Regions from separate parts of the Homo sapiens genome. Here all the other regions are linked to region 1. The links are contacts of gene promoters, found by promoter capture Hi-C in human tissues and cell types (Jung and others, 2019). All regions are on one chromosome and are shown on one strand. Each heading gives the region's core, a stretch centred on a gene start or on the middle of the fragment in contact. The rest is flanking DNA. Distances are from core to core; before and after follow the strand shown.

What was found. The method cuts DNA at HindIII sites, captures the fragments that hold promoters and counts their contacts. A contact is called where the count stands out against the background at its distance.
Region 2: a fragment that was not itself captured here is called in contact with the fragment with the promoter of USP18 in region 1 in 1 of the 25 tissues and cell types used here (lymphoblastoid cells).
Region 3: a fragment that was not itself captured here is called in contact with the fragment with the promoter of USP18 in region 1 in 3 of the 25 tissues and cell types used here (dorsolateral prefrontal cortex, lymphoblastoid cells and thymus).

What each region holds. Positions count from the first base shown.
Region 1 is chr22:18,148,551-18,152,060 of GRCh38, reverse strand. USP18 (ubiquitin specific peptidase 18) reads right to left here and starts at 1,891. Exons shown (of 11, transcript NM_017414.4): 1 at 1,839-1,891. It overlaps LOC124905076 (a long non-coding RNA gene), which reads left to right and starts at 2,847. Exons shown (of 2, transcript XR_007067999.1): 1 at 2,847-2,961. RefSeq lists an enhancer at 1,831-2,150. The HindIII fragment of the contact is 12,042 bases long and covers 618-3,510 here.
Region 2 is chr22:17,863,563-17,867,072 of GRCh38, reverse strand. It overlaps MICAL3 (microtubule associated monooxygenase, calponin and LIM domain containing 3), which reads left to right. Exons shown (of 32, transcript NM_015241.3): 18 at 1,061-1,149; 19 at 2,087-2,174. LOC124905075 (a long non-coding RNA gene) reads right to left here and starts at 322. Exons shown (of 3, transcript XR_007067998.1): 1 at 236-322; 2 at 8-84. The HindIII fragment of the contact is 7,762 bases long and covers 1-3,510 here.
Region 3 is chr22:17,890,484-17,893,993 of GRCh38, reverse strand. It overlaps MICAL3 (microtubule associated monooxygenase, calponin and LIM domain containing 3), which reads left to right. Exons shown (of 32, transcript NM_015241.3): 11 at 90-186; 12 at 2,362-2,509. Among named protein-coding and RNA genes, the nearest start is that of MIR648, 89 kb to the left of the region's middle. The HindIII fragment of the contact is 3,153 bases long and covers 275-3,427 here.

The DNA.
Region 1 (3,510 bases), core at 642-3,141:
TATTTTTGAGACGGAGTCTCCCTCTGTCGCCCAGGCTGGAGTGCAGTGGCCGGATCTTGGCTCACTGCAAGCTCCGCCTCCCAGGTTCACGCCATTCTCCTGCCTCAGCCTCCCGAGTAGTTGGGACTACAGGCGCCTGCCGCCACGCCCAGCTAATATTTTTTATTTTTAGTAGATGGGTTTGCACCGTGTTAGCTAGGATGGTCTTGATCTCCTGACCTCGTGATCCACCTGCCTCGGCCTCCCAAATTGCTGGGATTACAGGCGTGAGCCACCGCGCCCGGCCTATTTTGCATTTCTTGAGTAATCGTAATATGCGGGTTAGAACACACGGATTACAACACTTTGGATGAAAAACCACATAATAGGGAAATTTTGGGACTACTCTCTCTCAAAAAAAAAAACAGCTCGTGGAAAAACTAGGACTTACCTTCTTTGAAACTATGTTTATGTTAAGCATTTTCCCCTTTGTAAGCTCATCATTGTGTAAAAGTGTCAGAACTGTGCAACACATTTTTTAACAGTCCAAAAGCAAGTTCTTTGATAAATCAATATGAAGCCGTGCACCTGTGTTACTCTCCCTCCCGTTTTGTTCCTGCGAACACATCGGTAACCTGCATTCACTCTCCATCCAACTCTGTTCAATACCAGAAAGAAACTTCAGATGAAATGCTTTTCAGTATTTGCCTTGTTTTCTGGAACAACTTTAAAGTACAAATTATACCTAAATAAGTACAAATTAAAGCCTCTGCTTTAATTTTCAAACACTTTGAACCCAGATTTTCAGGGGTCTCAAAATGGAGTTTTGTGTTTAAAAGTCTAAATTTAGCTTTCTTCCAAGGAAAAGGGTGTGAAGAAGAGAGGTTAAGACTAAAATACTCTGATTTGCAGAGTTTGACAACATCCTTCCAATTTCTCAATATGAATGCCCACTGACCCAGCCATTCCACTTCTAGGAATTTTCCACCGATATATTTGTATGAATGTATACATAAAATTATATTCATTGCCGTATCTGTGCCAGTAAAAACTGGAAACAACCTAAATCTCCATGCATTGTTTAAACAATGTACTTCCCATACCATGTATCAGGTTTTTTTGTTTGTTTGTTTGAGACAGTTTCGCTCTGTCGCCCAGGCTGGAGTGCAACGGTGCGATCTCGGCTCACCGCAACCTCCGCTCCCGGGTTCAAGCGATTCTCCTGCCTCAGCCTCCCGAGTAGCTGGGATTACAGGCATGCGCCACCACGCCAGGCTAATTTTGTATTTTTAGTAGAGACGGGGTTTCTCCATGTCTGTAACTCCTGACCTCAGGTGATCCTCCCTCCTCGATCTCCCAAAGTGCTGGGATTACAGGCGTGAGCCACCGTACCCGGCCGAATCAGTTTTTTGTTTTATTTTTAATGCCATTAACACATCTATATGTCCTGCCATGAAAAGATGTCCATAATATACTCAGTGGACAAAGCAAGTTCGAAATGATTTTAAAGACTTGTACATAGAAACATTTCTGATAAGGTACAAACAAAAATGATACTGAGTGGAAGACTGCGAGACACATTTGTCTGCATTGTTTGAATTTTTTTACAAGCTTACAACACTTCTGCAATTTCTTTTTTTGTTTTAATTAAACACAAAGTCATGTCAAAAGTCCAAATAACTATATTAGCTTAGAAAAAAATTCACTGGCCCAAAATATATGCACGTAGTAAATACAGATCACTATCATAATTTGCAGAGCACAATTATTACTTAATTCCTTAATTATCTGACTGGCATAGGAGCAGAGTTGGATGTCTGTGCTAGAAAGAAAACTTCCAAAATGAGCCCCGAACTTGCCTCAAGCGCCATGCAAGCGTCCAGCCTCCGCTGCTGAGTTCCACGTCGGGACTGAGCCGGGGACCGAGCTGGGACCGAAGTTCCGCTCCGGGCCCGCCTTGGTCTGGCCCCGCGCTCGTGGCACCCCGCCCAGCTTTCGTTTTCCACTGAATGGAAAGCGAAACTTACAGCGGCCTCCGCGCCGGGAGCTGGGCGCCAGCGTGCGGGGAAACCCTGCCGGCCCGAGCTTCCCGCGGCTGCCGTTGCAGCCGCGCACCTGCTCCAGACTTCCAGCCCTCGCTTTTTTTTTTTTTTTTTTTTTTTGAGACGGAGTCTCATTCTGTCGTCCAGGCTGGAGTGCGGTTGCGCTGTCTCGGTTCACTGCAAACTCCGCCTCCTGGGTTCAAGCGATTCTCCTGCCTCAGGCTCCGGAGTAGCTGGGATTACAGGCATGCGCCACCACTCCTGGCTAATTTTTGTATTTTAGTAGCGATGGGGTTCCGCCATGCTGGCCAGGCTGGTCTCAGGTGATCCGCCCGCCTCCTAAAGTGCTGGGATTACAGGTGTGGGCCACCGCGCCCGACCTACAGGCGCCTTTTTATTTGCGATTTTAAGGTCCTTGCAATTAGCCTACGTGTTAGAGTCATTTGGCGTTTGGTAGTATCCATGGCAGCATTTTTTCTTTCTTAATGCTATTGTATTTCTTGGATCGGGTGTCTTCACATCACCGGCCTGTGGCTTGGATGCGGCACATGGTGTAATTAGGAGCTCCCCTGTGGGCATGCAGATACAGATATTTCTCCACTTAAGAAGGGGTCAGGGGGCGCGGTGGCTCACACCTGTAATCCCAGCACTTTGGGATGCTGAGGCAGGCGGATCACCTGAGGTCAGGAGTTCGAGACCAGCCTGACCAACATAGTGAAACCCCATCTCTACTAAAAGTACAAAAATTAGCTCGGCGTGGTGGCGCTTAATCCCAGCTACTTAAGAGGCTGAGGCAGGAGAATAACTTGAACCCAAGAAGCGGAGGTTGCAGTGAGCAGAGATCGACAAGAGCAAGACTCCGTCTAAAAAAAAAAAAAAAAAATGGGGTCAAGTCCCAGTGAACCCATCATGAAGTCGAAACATCGTAAGTGAAACCACGGTAAGTGATGGACCATCTGTGTATATATAAGGTTAAGAGATCTGTAACATGCACACCGGAAAGGCTTATTACCTCTTTAGAGATGTATTTCTTGTATGTAGACTCATGGGGGTAGGGGCAGAAGGGTTATCTGCTAGGGGCCTCAAACTCCAGCCGCTGGAATTTGCGCAGGAAAGCAGGGTACAATTCCCCCAAAGCGATCATTCTTTCTGAAAGCCGTCCCCGCAGCAACAGACAAATAGCCTCCAAAAACCCAAAGCTGCCAGAACCTCACTGAAGCGTTGGTAGGGTCTGCAGTAAGGTACAAAATACCATGGCATGAAGATGTATAAACGTGTCCATAATAGGGTGGATGTGTGTTAGAAGCATGAGCACAGATATACACATACAGGCTATCCACACGTCCATCGTCAGCCCAGACTCCGCTTACATTGCTGCTGGAACGGAGGCAGTGTCGCCCACAGTGCAGCATGTTCTCCCTGGAAGGCTGGTGGACTTTGCGCAGTATGGTGTTTACACAGGTACACGGTGGTGGGCGCAGGGTCCGTC
Region 2 (3,510 bases), core at 263-2,762, 280 kb after region 1:
ATCTTACCTTTATTTTCTTTGACTTTTAGGTCCTCTTATTGTAGCTTTGAGATCAGGAAAGCTCATTTGTCTAAGAAGCACTCTCTACAAATGAGGAAAATGAAATGGGATTACTTCTGTTTCAACAGTTTCTATAGTAGGGTTTATCACTTGAGATTCAAAAGTCGTCAGTCGCTCTTTAAGTGAGAGTAAAAAAGAGTCAGAAAAAAATGACTGCGTGGGTTAATTCCATTACCAGAGTCATGGGAAAAGCCAAGTTCAGTGGTGTTCAGATTTTTCTGACGACACCCCCCACGGGGATGCACGTTACATTGAGACCCAGACACAGCTGCAAGTTCCAAGAAATAACGTTTTATTCTCATCATGCCACAGTACACTCTGGATTCTATTCTATTCTATTCTATATTCTATTCTATTCTATTCTATTCTATTCTATTCTATTCTATTCTATTCTATTCTGTTCTGTTCTATGCTGTTCCCTTCCATCCTACTCATAGTCCATTGCAGTATTTTTTGTCTTCTAATGTCCTTTCCTGCTGATCCTGACCCTCTGAGGGGACTGGGAGGGGGTGAGAGATAGGGTGCGGGAGGGGGAGCAGCAGAGATGGGCCTGTCAGAGCCAATGCCAGGCGATGCCCCACCCCTGCAGCCTCCACGCCTCCACCCTGCACTTGTATTCATTCTTGGTTTCCCCAGCAATGCTACTCCCAGCGTTTCATGTGACCACATCTTTGTTCCTCACACACTGCCACTTTGTTTGCTGGCCCTGCCACACAGGCCTCACATCTTTGCTCTGGGCACTGATTGGGTGATGGCTCAATGGCCTTCACATTCCCAAAGGAAAAGACCCCCTTCAGGCCAAGGGAGAGGAGAGCTAGAATCAAAGTTTACCCGGAGGAACTGGCTTCTCTGGACAAGAAAGCTGGGCCCAGGGAAGGCTGGGTGGCTTGATGGCCTTGTGAGGCTGGAGGAGATGGAAAGGAGTGGCTGAGACCAGGGAGGCACGTTCAGGATCCGTGCCTGGCTCATCGCCTCTGTCCCTGCCTCTTGCTGTCTGCAGGTAAATTCTACTGTAAGCCACACTACTGCTATCGACTCTCTGGCTACGCACAAAGGAAGAGACCGGCAGTGGCTCCCCTGTCTGGAAAGGTAATGGTGACTCTCCTGTAAGTGGGGGAGAAGCAGTGGGTGTTGCAGCAGTGTGGCTATGGGCCGGGGGCGGCCAACCTGCAAATGCCCCTGCGTCCTTGCCTCTCCTGGGAACGGGGAGGGCCCGAAATGCAGTGGCAGTCCGGGGTGGAGAGGGAACCATCTTTTCATGGATGATCTGAGGTTGCCTCGCTAAGGTAAAGGCTCCACCTGCCCCCTGAGTCGGACCCAGGAGATGATGCAGCTCTCCATCTCAGCTGCGTAGACATCTGCCTTCGTCAACACACATCTTTCTGAGAGGACACCCTGCCACTGGGGTGATGCCGCCTCATGTTCCACATGATTAGAGCCTCCTCCAGAAGGGCAGGGTGGGAGAGGAGACTGTTGGGAGGATCCCTCGGTGGCCCCACCCTCACTCCCCACACCCAAAGGGCGCCCTGCCTGCGGGGCCTTTCACTAGTTCTGTGAGTTATTTGTCTGTGAATTTTTTCCTTCCTTATCCTCTTTTTAATGAGGGTGGCTTCTCCACCTGTCTTTGTCGCGGTGAACCCAGCAGTCTCTTCAGCATGGTTGCCACCTTGTCAGCACGCCTGCCTGTCAGTCCCCCTTGAGGGCTTCTGTTGCCTGCAGAGGGACTGGCAGGAAGAGGTGCACCTAGGTGGATCTAGACTTTGACTCCGGGTGACTCAGGAGGCTGAGGTGGGAGGATTGCTTGAGCCCAGGAGGTCGGGGCTGCAGTGAGCTATGATGATGCCGCTGCACTCCAGCCTGGGTGCCAGCAAGGCCCTGTCTCTTAAATAAATAAATAAATAAATAAATAAATAAATAAATAAATAAAATTTAAAACCAGCGTGTCAGATTGTCAGTGCCTCTAGGGATTTGAGGATTTGAGTGCATCAGTCAGAGTCACTCTTCTTTTTCTCATGAACTTTCCTAGGAGGCCAAAGGACCCCTGCAGGATGGCGCCACCACAGATGCAAACGGACGGGCCAACGCCGTGGCCAGCTCCACTGAGAGAACCCCAGGTAGCCTCACTTCCTTGTTTGGCTGGGTGGCGCGTCACTCCCTCGGCCTCTGTGACAAGGCCAAGGGCATGAGCCAGCACCTCCAAAGCAACATTTCTTCATTCGGGCAACAAGTGGCCCAAAACCCTCTGGACTCCTTTTTCATGTGCCAGCTGCTTGCGTTCGGAGTCCCCTTTCTCTATGGCCTGTCGGAGGTGCTGGTGCAAATCAGAGGGGAGTTCCACTGGCAGGCTGTGGCCCAGTGATGGGGCCGTCCGGTGGGCGGCAGAGCCGTGAAGTGCTGTCCCTCAGCCCCGTCCCGCACCATCACACCTGAGGGCGGCCCAGGTCCTGTGTAGGTAGACAGGAGCTCGCAGGCGCTCAGACACTGCTCCCATCACCCGCCCTGGTGAGGCCAAGGCCACTCGGCCTTCATGCAGTTTGCTTCCAAGCTCCTCTGACGGCCTGGAGCTGTGTTGATTAAGCCCCGTGGTCTTGTTTTGGGTTCACCTTCACTTAAGATTCTGCGTCCTGTTCCCTGTCACTGTGTGTGGATGAGCTGTGGCTGCTCTCCTGTCTGCCCTGCACCGTGATGGGACATGCCCTGTCCTGACCCCTTGGCCACTGGGCTTGTCATGAGGTCCAAGCCCTCACCTGTCCCACTTTCATGACCACTTCCTTGTGTTGGGAGGTGAACAGTACCATCTCTACCTCTACAAACACATTTATTCTTGTCATAGCATGACAGGACTCGCAGGGTTTGTGGGTACCAGGCCTGTTGGGAAGAATTATGTAGATTTTCCTTAAAATGGCCTCTCTCAGCAACTTGTAAAACTTGCCTGTGAGATGCGTCCAGAGCTCCACAAACTGCTGGGTGTTCTGAATGTCCCACATACAGCTCCAGGTGGTTCACGGCCCAGGGTCACTGTGGCAAGAGGGGGCCAGCAGGGCTGTGTTTCTGTCTGTCACACTTTCCTCTTGTTCAAAACACATGTATCTCAAGCAGCTATATACAAAACTCATAAAAATTAAAGATGGTCAGCCAGTGCCAGGAAATGTGGAGGAGGAGTTGGTCATAGAATTTCCATGGTGGGACAAGAGAATTACCCATTTGGCCTTCAACGAGAGGTTCCCAGAGTTGCATCCTTTCCCTTCCCTAACAGCTGGTTCATGTAGGCCTTGTGGTGCTCATTCTGGGAGAGGGAAGATGCGCCCAGAGGCTAGGCGGTGTGCCCTGGGAGCCATGAGAACCCAGCCAAGCCAGGTGAACGCAGCTTCTGCTACTGCACGTGCCCTTATTATCATCTGAGCAAGTTTTTTAAGTACCCTGCAGGTGGGACCAACATTTTATAGCCAT
Region 3 (3,510 bases), core at 602-3,101, 260 kb after region 1:
ACTTTCCTTTCAGCCATTCTGCTCTTAGGTAGGAATTTGTTACTTGATATTTGATTTTCTTTCTGTTTGACTTTGTAAATTTCTGCCAGGTGCGCCATTTATATGATACTGGCGAAACAAAAGATATTCACCTGGAAATGGAGAGCCTGGTGAATTCCCGAACCACCCCCAAATTGACTCGCAATGGTGAGTTCTGGTGGTGGCTTTTTAAAATGCAGGCAGCCCCTTCAGAGAAGTCTATACTCATTCCCTGAGCCACAAGGTGCGGTCCGAGGCAGTGGCCGAAGTACTGTCTGAGACAGTGGCTCTCAACCCAGGGTGATTTTGCCCTCCAGGGGATACTTGGTAGTTGTCTGGGGACATTTTTGATGGTCATGATTGGGGGTGGGCAGGAGCCAGGGATGCTGCTGAACATCCCGCAGTGCACGAGACAGGCCTCCACCACACGGAATTACCTTGGCCTGAGGTGTTACGAGAGCACAGAGAGAAACCAGGTACAGACGCGGGGCAGAGGGGAGAGAGGGAGAGAGTGTGAGAGCTAAGGTTTCGGGAGAAGACTTTGTGGAAAAAGTCTTTGGCTGGGTCCTGCAACATAGCCAGGATTCAGTGACAGGTGAGGACCACTCCAGATTTTGTATGTATTGAAGGCCCTGAATACTTTTTTGAAAGAGAATGACATGAGTACACCTGGTCAGCCACACGTGAGAGGGGTTGGAGGAGGGAAGTACCAGAGGCAGGGAGACCAGGTAGAAAGACCTCGCCATAGTCAGGCTGAAGGTGGTGGAGGCCCAGATCTGGGCCTGATGCTGGGGATGAAGAAGGGAGGAGGCAGTGGAGGAGACCTCAGACTTTGGGCCAGGTGCAACTGGGTCCCAGGCCAAGCTTTGCTGCTGGTGAATTGTGCGGCCTCGAAGAGGTGATTGAATAGCTCTGAACTTCGATTTCCTTGTCTGTGAAGTGGGGGCAGCAGTGTCTACCTCACATTGTGATCATGAGTGCCGGGCCTGTGGTGGATGGTCATTGCCATTGTTGGTTATGTGAGAGAGAATGGTAAGGAGGTGAAGTCGATGGGCAGGGGCAATTGATCACCTTGTGGGGCAAGAGGTAGGTGTTTGTAGATGGTGCTACATCAGCGTAGGCAAGGCAGAGGGAGGGCTGAGAGGGTTGAGAGGTTTGAGTCATTTGGACATTGTGAATTTGACGTGCCATTGGGATGCCAGGGTGGATGTGAGGACCAGCAGGCAGTTGGAAACATTTGCATTTTTCTCCACTGGAGCGTCTTCTCTTTGAAAGCAGAGAGTGTATCTTTATTCACTGTTTTTATTTTAGAGCATGGAATATTGAAGTTGCCTGTTACATATTGGATGGTTGGATATACACATAGGAGACAGATCTGAGTAAAAGCTCATTTCTGAGCCAAGAGATGGCACCAGAAGGTGGTTTTATGTGTTATCGCAGAATACATTTTCATGGCGAAAAACCTAAATGAAACAGGATTTTCATGATACTTGGTTTTTAGCTTATGTTCACAAATTACTAAATGACTTAGTACAAACTTCAGTTGCCCTCGGTAAGGGAACAGACTTTCTTGGATATAAATAGTTCATAGATTCTTTTGAATGGCCGATATCAGAGCTCTTCTGATGTGATTAATAATAGGATTTTTAAAGAGGCTGTTCGGGTTTTAGAAGACGTTTCAATGAACTGTAAAAAGCATCCCAGCACATGTGTTTGCCTATTCAGTTTCTCAGGGTTGAGAATTCATAGTACAAGGTGCCAAGCTCTGTTCGGGGACTGTCTGGTCTGGGGCCCCAGGGTTGTCAGCGGAGCCCTGCAGGGCTTCTTCTCTTGGCAAGTTATACAGTGCCTTGGAAGTGCAAGGGCGAGGCCTGGGTGCTTTGGGTTGAACGTGCCACCCTATAGAATGGAGCCTTTTCTCCTCTCCTCTTCCCAGTGTTACTTTGGAGGGGGTAGGCTTCCTCAGCTAGGTGCCAGCGACTGTCCGGGAACTCAGAGCTGCTGTAAGCCAGGCTGGCCACACAGTAGGTGGCGCTCCTCCACCTCAGTGCCGTGGGGACAGCAGGTTGTGGCTGTCAGGCTGTGGTCCCTCAGGGTACTGGGGGGTGGACGTTGACCTTAGAGTCTGGATAAACTAGTAGTTTCTTTTCTTAGAATTCGCTGTCATGATACCATTTGCATAACCTTGTTCCTCACTGTTTTCTTTGCATGGAAACTAGTGTTGACTGTTTCGTCCCTACCCTCAGTAATTTTTCAAAGGGGACATGTGTCCTACAAAGAGGATTCTCTGTCAGCATTACCAGGTGACCACACCTCCAATAATACTGTGTTTTGTTGTTTTAGAGTCTGTAGCTCGTTCAAGCAAACTGCTGGGTTGGTGCCAGAGGCAGACAGATGGCTATGCAGGGGTAAACGTGACAGATCTCACCATGTCCTGGAAAAGTGGCTTGGCCCTTTGTGCAATTATCCATAGATACCGCCCTGACCTGATGTAAGTTGTGATCAAACTTTGTGTTTTTTTATACTCCTCAAGGATCTCAGACCACTCTGCTATCAAGTAACATTTTGTCCTTTTTCCTAGAATGAGGTACATAGTAAGATACTTTCTCTAGAAGGCAGTGATTTTGATTTCACTATATTTGAAACTCTGTATGTCATGTATTATATAGCTCAACCCAGGAATGATTTTTATTTTTGTTTTTTTCCAATTTTTTTTTTTGTGCTCCTATAGCTGAGTTTTAAAAATCACAACACTCATAAGTCAAAAACTGGTTTTGACACCCACCTGGGCCTGTTAGCTTCCCACAAAGGAAAACTGTTTATTGGCCCCGGTTGAACTCTTCATTTCGGCCAGCTGTCTCTCAAATTCTATGGGTCACAAGGGAAACCTGGCTAGAACATTTGGCCAGCTCAAGGCAAATGTGTCACTACTAACAAAGCAAAACATCATGAACAGTTGACCAATTTATGATGGTTCATTGGTATTTTCTCTGTGTTAAAGACTGCGTTTTTTACAGACATACTCTGTTGTCCTACCCACCTATCCCAGTGACATCTCCTTTGGCCATTCTCCACTCACCTGTCTACAGAATCAGAGTTCTAGGGTGACCCCAGGTCAGCTGCGGGGACCAGCACACCCAGGTTCCCCCATCGGCATTTGTTACCACGGAAGCCAAACCGAAGGATTCAGAAGCAGAGCATGTTGCATTATTTTGGTTTCCTGTCCTTTTCATCATTAGGTCCACTTAAGGGGCCAATTTCTGTTTGTTTTGTTTAATGATTGCTTAAGGAATCCTACAAGATATAGTTGCTATTTATATGATGGTTATAAACTGACAAGGCAAGAGCTGGTAAAAATAGCCTTGTGCAGTGTGGATTACAAATGGGGATTTCTGGTGTGCTTGGATGGAGGTAAGTGACCTCTGGTGCTCCTGTCACTTAGCTCACCCAGAAGTTGATAGCAAGTAAGTAAAAATAGGGCTTATTCACTCC